Linked DNA regions of Homo sapiens: region 1 is linked to region 2. Evidence: promoter capture Hi-C in 16 types of primary human blood cells and fetal thymus (Javierre and others, 2016). All regions are on one chromosome and are shown on one strand. The core of a region is centred on a gene start or on the middle of the fragment in contact, and the rest is flanking DNA. Distances in the headings are between cores, read along the strand shown.

Region 1 (3,997 bases), core at 1,498-3,997, about 14 Mb before region 2:
GGGAGGATCACTTAAGCCCAGGAGTTGGAGGCCAGTGTGGGCAACACAGCAAGACCTCATCTCAAAAAAAAAAAAAAAAAAAAAAAGATAAGGGCGAAATGAAGACATTTTTGGACAAACAAAAACAGAAAATGTATTAGCAACAAATACTAAAGGAAATTTTTAGAACTCAATAAAATTGGTTAAATTGGGGGGGAACTGACTGTTTAAAATAATGTTATATGTGTTTTAAAGGATAAAACTTTATTATTAGACAAGAGCATATGGTTAGATGTGTGTGTGTGGACCTAAGGTGTCCTAAAGGATAGTAGAGTGTGATGAGCATTACAATTTAAGCTAGATATGCATTTTAGAAGTTAAAGGGCAACAATCTCTAAAAAAGTAGAGGATATAATCTCCAGACCAGTGGAGGGGAAAAAAACGTAAAAAACAAAAACAATCCAAAAGTAAAAATCAATCCAAAAATAAAAAATAAAGAAAAAAAAGAAAGATGAAACCAATCACAAAATGTGACAGAAATAAATCCAATTATATTGGTAATCATGAAATGATAATGTAAATAGACGAAATTTTCTAGTTAAAAGATAATGATTGTCAGATTGGTTAAAAATATAAAAGCTAGCTATATAAATCATATAAACACAGAAGAGTTGAAAATTATTAAAAACACACTAGGAAGCCAAAATAAAGCTGGTACAGTTGTATTAATATCAGACACAATAGATTACAGGCAAAAAGCAGTTTTATAGATTATGTGGGTCACTACATAATGACCAAAAATTCATTTTGCCAAGATAATTTTAACCTGGTGCACACCAAAGTAACACAGCTTCACAGTACATAACCACAAAATCTGTAGTACAGATGTGTTGAAAAACAAGCCTCTTAAAAAAGAGTGTGGTCTCTGGGGCAAAGTTGTGATAATGAAGGTCACTGAAGAAAAATATGAATCCTTTATTGAATCCTTCTAGCTTCAGGTGAGAAATGGTTTCAGTTTTTCTTTTCTACATAACTGCACATTACTGTTAACCTTTCAGGCAACACTAAACTCTTTCTGGGCTTATGGTCATCTGCATACCTTACCTAATTTATATAATAAAGAAACAGGTACAGATTATTATTGTCCTTCCTAGAAGAACTGATCTTGAAAAATACAGGCTGAAACTGTTTTTGTTTCCCACATTTTAAAAGAAAAACGAGGACACATGACATATATCATGCATTGAATATACAGAAGGAAGTATGGAAAACTAGCCTAGCAACCAATTTGGACATAGATTTTTAGACTTCCTTCTATTTGTCTGTCACCAGAAGCTTTAACATAAATAAATCCAATAAAGGAAAAACATGAAATCAAGCTTTGTGTACATATATATTAATGAGACTAAAGAACGGTGATGTGCACAAGTCAGACCCATCTCTAGAACTTGGCAAATATGGAAACTGGAAAATGAATAGATGCCACAGAGATGCAAATACAGAACTGACAAAAGTTAAGAAAGCAGACTTCAGAAAATCTCCATCAGGCCTCAAGAGCAGGATCTGAAATATTCATGCAAAAAGCCAAAGGCCTCTACAGCTGAAATGACACAGCAAAACTAAATCTCAGCTAAAATGGAAGAAGTGTCTGTAAGAGACAGACCTGAATGCAAATGTGTCAAGGAAATACTCTTTGGATTCAAAAAGGAGGTTCTCCAAAAACAAACCAACAGAAAACAAACCAACAAACCAAGAGAAACCAACACAAACAAGCAAAACAGTAACCCAAACCAAAATGTGTCCTATACTTTGTGATGTGAAAAATCACAAATAAAATATTTAATCCAGTAGGGCTCATGAATCCTGAATTCAGCTCAAGTCACCTGAGTGCTCGCTCCTTGTCAGAAAGACTCAAGAAAACTTCCTCTCATGGAACTCAAGGAGCTTCCCCATGAGGCCTGCCCTCCTACCAACACCCTACCCAGTTCCCCAGTGGTTTTCTCCTGAGTCCTGTTCACAGTGGATCCTATTCTGTTAACTAGTAAATGTTGATAACTTTTACCCTGTACCTCCCCAACAAATCAGCAAGTTAGTGGAGGAATTCCAGAGACAATGCTTTAACTCAGTGTTTATTTTAGCCAAAGGGAAGCCCAGTACAGAAACAATCAAAAGTTGAAATCTGATTGAAGTAGGAAAGCCCAGGGCTCTACAGAGCACAGTTGAACTATGGCCCTATCAATAAAAGTATCAACAGCAATGGATTAAAATGTCTCAATTATTTAAATCTATGAGTTCTTAATGACATTTTAAGAAGTCCTCATTCATCATTTTTGCAAGTTATTTTGAAAGCTAACTCATATACAAACTATTTCAGGGTAAGTAAACTGTTGATGAATGGAAGTTCTGTCATAAAAATTTCCTAGATAATAAATGAAAAGAAATGATAAAATTTAAACAGCAATAGTATGCAGCTTCAAATGAAATAACAAATCTAAGTAAAGATCATGAATGGCCTTTAACTTCGCAGAGGGGCAATCAAATGCTGTGTGCTTACTGACACAAGTAAACACTTACTATGAAGTATTTATACCAAAAGACAAAATAAAAAGTCCTGAATCTGATCAAGCCCCTTTCTCCAACTACCAGTTTCACAAGACATATGGAAGGCAGAGGAGCACGCTAAACACCACAATAAGGATGAAATCAGCAAATCTAGAATGTGGGAAACTCCAAAAAAGACCTGTTTTGTTCAATAAATAAATTGCAAAAAACTTACAAACTAAGATAGTTGAGACAACTCAACACATTGCAAGGTATGGACCTTATCTAGATCACATTTCAACAAACTAAATTAAAAAGAAATTTATAAGACATTTGGGAAAATGTGAACATTAATGGAATATTTAATATTACAGAAGTACTAGTTTTTTAGAATAGTATGATTAATTACGTTTTTAAAAATCCTTATCTTTTAGAGGTACATATCAAAGTACATATAAAAAAACCCCGATAATTAAGTTTGTTAAAAAGTAATCTGGTGAACAGGTGGGGAGTTGATGAAACAACACTGGTAGGGAATTGATAATTGCTGGAGCTGGGTGACAGTACACAGGGGTTTATTCTACTCTCTCTACTTCTGTATGTTTCTATTAAAAAGATTCAGAAAGAGTTAACGGGGGCACATAGCAACCAATTGTATTATACGAGGCTTTATTTGAATCCTGATTCAACCAAATCATAAAAAAAAAAATTTGAGAGTATCAGGGATACCTGAGCCAGGAGCGGTGGCTCACGCCTGTAATCCCAGCACTTGGGGAGGCCGAGGTGGGCGGATCACGAGGTCACGAGTTCGAGACCAGCATGACCAAAAAGGCAAGACCCCATCTCTGCTAAAAATACAAAAATTAGCCGGGCATGGTGGCGGGCGCCTGTAATCCCAGCTTCTCGGGAGGCTGAGGCAGGAGAATCGCTTGAACCTGGGAGGAGGAGGTTTAAGCGAGCTGAGATCGTGCCATTGCACTCCAACCTGGGCGACAAGAGCAAGGCTCTAAGAAAATAAAATAAAATAAGAAAGAGAGTATCAGGGATATCTGAACACTAACTGGATATTTCGTGATATTTACAACCCTATTAATATTTTAGGTGTGATAATGGTATTGAAAAGCACCCTTGTCTTTTGGAGATCTGTATCAAAATATTTACGGATGAAATGACTTACTGCCTGGGATCTCCTTCAAAATTATCCAAAGCATCGGGATGGGGAAACAGTAATAAAGATAAAATAAAGACTAAGAGCTGATAATTGTTGAAGCCAGGTGATGGGTAAAGGGGGCTCCTTATACCAAGGTGTCTACACCTTCAAATGTTAAAACACTAAAAAAAAAAAATCTGTGGCGTTAGAAGTCAGGATACCGGTTACCTTTGGAGAGACTAAGTGGGGGCCGCAATAAGGGCTTCTGGAGCGGTAGGAATGCTCTTGCTTCCTACACAGGTTTACTCGCTTTGTGGTAATTCATCA
Region 2 (4,060 bases), core at 1,167-3,666:
CTTCATTATAGCTGAAGAACTATCACAGAAACATGACTCCAGAGAAAGATATATTTGAAGCAAAGATAATATTTTACATGATACAGCCAAATTCTCATCTACAGATTGGTAATGAGAAACTGTTTTCCTCATGGCATCTAGAAGAAAGGCTAATTTCCTTAAATAGAACAGCTGTGTTACTTCTAGTTCTCTCTTTGTTGCTCCATAAAAAACTACCCCAAACTTAATGACTTGAAAAAACAACCATTTTATTATACCACACAAATCTCTAGAACAACATTTTGGGTAGGAGTCAACTAGACAACTCTGCTCCACACAGCAGTGACTGTGGTCACTCAGCAATATTCAGCTGAGGGCGGGGCTGGGCTGAAGTGTCCAAGATAGCTTCACTCACATGCCCGGCACTTGAGTGTAACCACCACCCTCCCCCATATTTACATAGGTATAAACTTTTTTTTTTTTTTTTTTTGAGATGGAGTCTCGCTCTGTCGCCCAGGCTGGAGTGCAGTGGTGTGATCTCGGCTCACTGCACGCTCTGCCTCCCGGGTTCACACCATTCTCCTGCCCCCGCCTCCCAAGTAGCTGGGACTACAGGCGCCCGACACCACGCCCGGCTAATTTTTTGTATTTTTAGTAGAGACGGGGTTTCACCGTGTTAGCCAGGATGGTCTCAATCTCCTGACCTCGTGATCCGCCTGCCTTGGCCTCCCAAAGTGCTGGGATTACAGGCGTGAGCCACCGCGCCCGGCCAAACATATTTTTTTTTTTTGTATTTAACTTACCACAAAGCCCATGAGAAGGCAGACAGTTCTGAAACCATATTCTGGAATCTCTGCCCTGCAGGTCCCTAAAGAGTTAACTCAAAGCCAGATACCCAATGGAGGCTCAATTAATGTGAATTAGAAGCAACAATGAACCAAATCCACAGATAACATTACTCACACTAGATTGAAAAGTGTAATCTAGAAATATTAAGTGTGAAAAAGTTTCTCAATTATAGTTAAATCAGAATTCTTTAATATGTAAAGGCAGTGAACGGAATGTTAAAAAAAAATGGAATGTCACATAACTTCTATAAATTAGGTGGTAGAGGACACCAGTTATGATGCATTTCATGAACCCCTACTCAAAAAGAAGCTACTTGTTGAAACAAAATATGAATTTAAGTGTTTTTTTTAAGTGTTTTTTTGGGGGGGAGGGGCATGGTTGTTCTCTTCCAAAAACTGAAAAAAAAAAAAAAAAAAAAGACGAAAAGAGCATATATGTTATGCCCTTTTCAAAGCAAACCTTAGGTCTTATTGGAATTGTTTCCTAATGCTATATAAATGAGACACGTGAGGCAATATACACTCCCCCACAGATGAATAACATAACATTTAGGTTACCAGGGCCTTTCACAATCTAACCTAACACCACTTTCCCAGGTTCATTTATCACTGGTTTCTTCTCAATACCTTCTGGTCAAAGACCACCAGAAGCACACATGTAATTGACAAACGGGGTTTATTATTCATTGCAGTAAGGGTTCTCTGTAAAATATTAGAAAATGCTTATTGGATTTGGGATTTTTTTCTCCTAATATTGGCTACCTTACCAAATCTTAGGAGGAAGAAAGGCTAGATCAAGGCTAAGATTGTAATTGGTAAAGAAGCAGAAGTCATCAAATTAAACCAGATAGGGTGATGTCCGGTCATTTTCGTGGCTTGGACAATGTTTTATCTGTGTTCAGATGTGATTACACAGTGATCATATTCTTTTCTTAATGAACACTGTCAGAGTGGTCTTGTTGGATGCTAATGCTTGCTGAAATTGTGTACGTTCATCAGGCGGACACCAGTTCCTAGTCCAGGCTAGCTCCAGGTGTCAGAGGCCACTTTTCCCTTCTACTCCTCACACATGCTGTACTCATACCAGACTTGAGTTTTCCCTGCCCTTTGTTCTTCCTTCTTTTTTATTCGATTCCCATTATCTTTAGTGATCATTCCCTTAGCATTTCAGTTTTCTCTCTGAAGTCCTTTGTGCTGCACGTTGTTTGATTACTTGTGTTTATGCTTTGTTTCTTCAGCTAGGATCATTAGCACATATCTCTCAGCATTGGCAAAAGTCCTCGAAATCATTGACACCTAGCATATACTTTATTTTTAAAAAAGAAAGAAAGAAGAGAAAAGGGATGGGTTTATTGTCCTTTTCAACAGACTAGAGTATACGGGGTGAAACTGCTTCACTTGATTCAATAAAATCGTTTCCGGTAACAGGCCCCAGGAATCCTAGACCTAAGCCTGGCGCGAAACTACATTTCCCACAATCCTTCGGGGGCTGATAAGGCTCCGCAATGGTCTGAACTACAATTCCCACAATCCAGGGCGATTTCCGCTTTGTCGCGTTTCCTCAAGGCTCCGCCCCATTTCCCATCTTTCTTTTCAGTCCTTGCGCACCGGGGAACAAGGTCGTGAAAAAAAAGGTCTTGGTGAGGTGCCGCCATTTCATCTGTCCTCATTCTCTGCGCCTTTCGCAGAGCTTCCAGCAGCGGTATGTTGGGCCAGAGCATCCGGAGGTTCACAACCTCTGTGGTCCGTAGGAGCCACTATGAGGAGGGCCCTGGGAAGGTTAGTGTGTAAGGGGCACGGCTTCGTTGGGGGAGGGGGCGCTTGGCTGTGACTCGCGCACCTGCAAGGCCGCCTCCGGGCTGTGGCGTGGGAGATGATAGCCAGAAACCAGGCTGAGACGCAGACTAGCATTCCACTTAGCCCAAGGACCAGTGAGGAAGCTGGGCATCCTAGCGCGTAGCCGCTAAAGGAATGGGCAGGTAGATCCGGAAGCCCTGCCTCCATCAGCCACCTGACGCCCCCTCCCCCGCCCCGCAGAAAGCCCTGAGATGGCTCCGGGAGGCCACGGCTGTAGGTGTGTTGGTTAAATCCGAGCTGGAGGTCATCGGACCCGAAATGAAGGTCATTGGAAAATCATGAGGAAATCAGGGCCTCTGGTTATGGAACAGGCTTTTTAAACTAGCTGCCTAAGTTAGAAGTACTAACCCTTCACCTCAGTTAAGGCTGGGTTTGGCCTCAGGTGTAAATAACTTAAACCACATAGCAGTAACAATCTCGGAGGGTCACACGAGGCCTAGTCATAAAGGCCAGAGAAGGTGCTTGGTAATGAAAAACAAACAAACAAAAAAAACTGTGGGCCAGGTGCGGTGGCGCACGCCTGTAATCGGGAGGCTAAGGCGTTCGGATCACCTGAGGTCAGGAGTTCCAGACCAGCCTGGCCAACATGGCGAAACCCTGTCTCTACTAAAAAGTACAAAAAAATTAGCCGGACGTGGTGGTGTGTGCCTCTAATCCCAGCTACTCGGGAGGCTGAGGCAGGAGAATCGCTTGAACCCGGGAGGTGGAGGTTGCAGTGAGCCGAGATCGGGCCACTGCACTCCAGCCTGGACAGAGCGGGACTCCGTCTCAAAAAAAAAAAAAAAGAAAAAAAAAGAGCTGTATTGCACTTAACATTGCCATGTATCTTCTAAGGTGACTACTTAGGACAGTAGTTTTTTCGATTTTCTAAAGTAAGAAACTTCTCACTATTTGACGTTTGAGTCCTCAAGACCATTCATTGCCTAGTGCTTAGTAAAGCCAGATTATTTCTTGCCATGTAGTGTTTTGTGATGAAGGTCATAGGATTTGAAAGATAAATGTTTAAAACGATGTTATGATTTATGGCATATGTTAACCTGATGATGTAAAATATAACTAGCATTTCCTGTATACTTGTATTTTGATTATTAAGCAGATGATTTGAGATTCAATTTCGATTACTTTTTCTCTTTTTTTCCAACAGAATTTGCCATTTTCAGTGGAAAACAAGTGGTCGTTACTAGCTAAGATGTGTTTGTACTTTGGATCTGCATTTGCTACACCCTTCCTTGTAGTAAGACACCAACTGCTTAAAACATAAGGATGTTTCAGTTCCTCCATTTAACAGGTAGTTAGTGGATTTCTAATCATGTTAAAGCAGGCCTTTTTATTAAGTAGCCTCTTCCCCATCACCCAGAACACACACACAAATACAT

The links. The method cuts DNA at HindIII sites, captures the fragments that hold promoters and counts their contacts. A CHiCAGO score of 5 or more calls a contact.
Region 1: a fragment that was not itself captured here is called in contact with the fragment with the promoter of COX7C in region 2 in 2 of 17 cell types (naive CD8 T cells and activated CD4 T cells); the score reaches 8.5 in naive CD8 T cells.

Annotation. Positions count from the first base shown.
Region 1 is chr5:72,303,820-72,307,816 of GRCh38, forward strand. The region is part of intron 2 of MRPS27 (mitochondrial ribosomal protein S27); the gene reads right to left. Among named protein-coding and RNA genes, the nearest start is that of MRPS27, 14 kb to the right of the region's middle. The HindIII fragment of the contact is 2,782 bases long and covers 1,357-3,997 here.
Region 2 is chr5:86,615,525-86,619,584 of GRCh38, forward strand. COX7C (cytochrome c oxidase subunit 7C) reads left to right here and starts at 2,417. Exons shown (of 3, transcript NM_001867.3): 1 at 2,417-2,606; 2 at 3,829-3,972. The coding sequence starts at 2,532. The coding sequence ends at 3,945. RefSeq lists enhancers at 2,085-2,164, 2,176-2,841, 2,228-2,522, 2,455-2,544, 2,842-3,507. The HindIII fragment of the contact is 5,230 bases long and covers 1-4,060 here.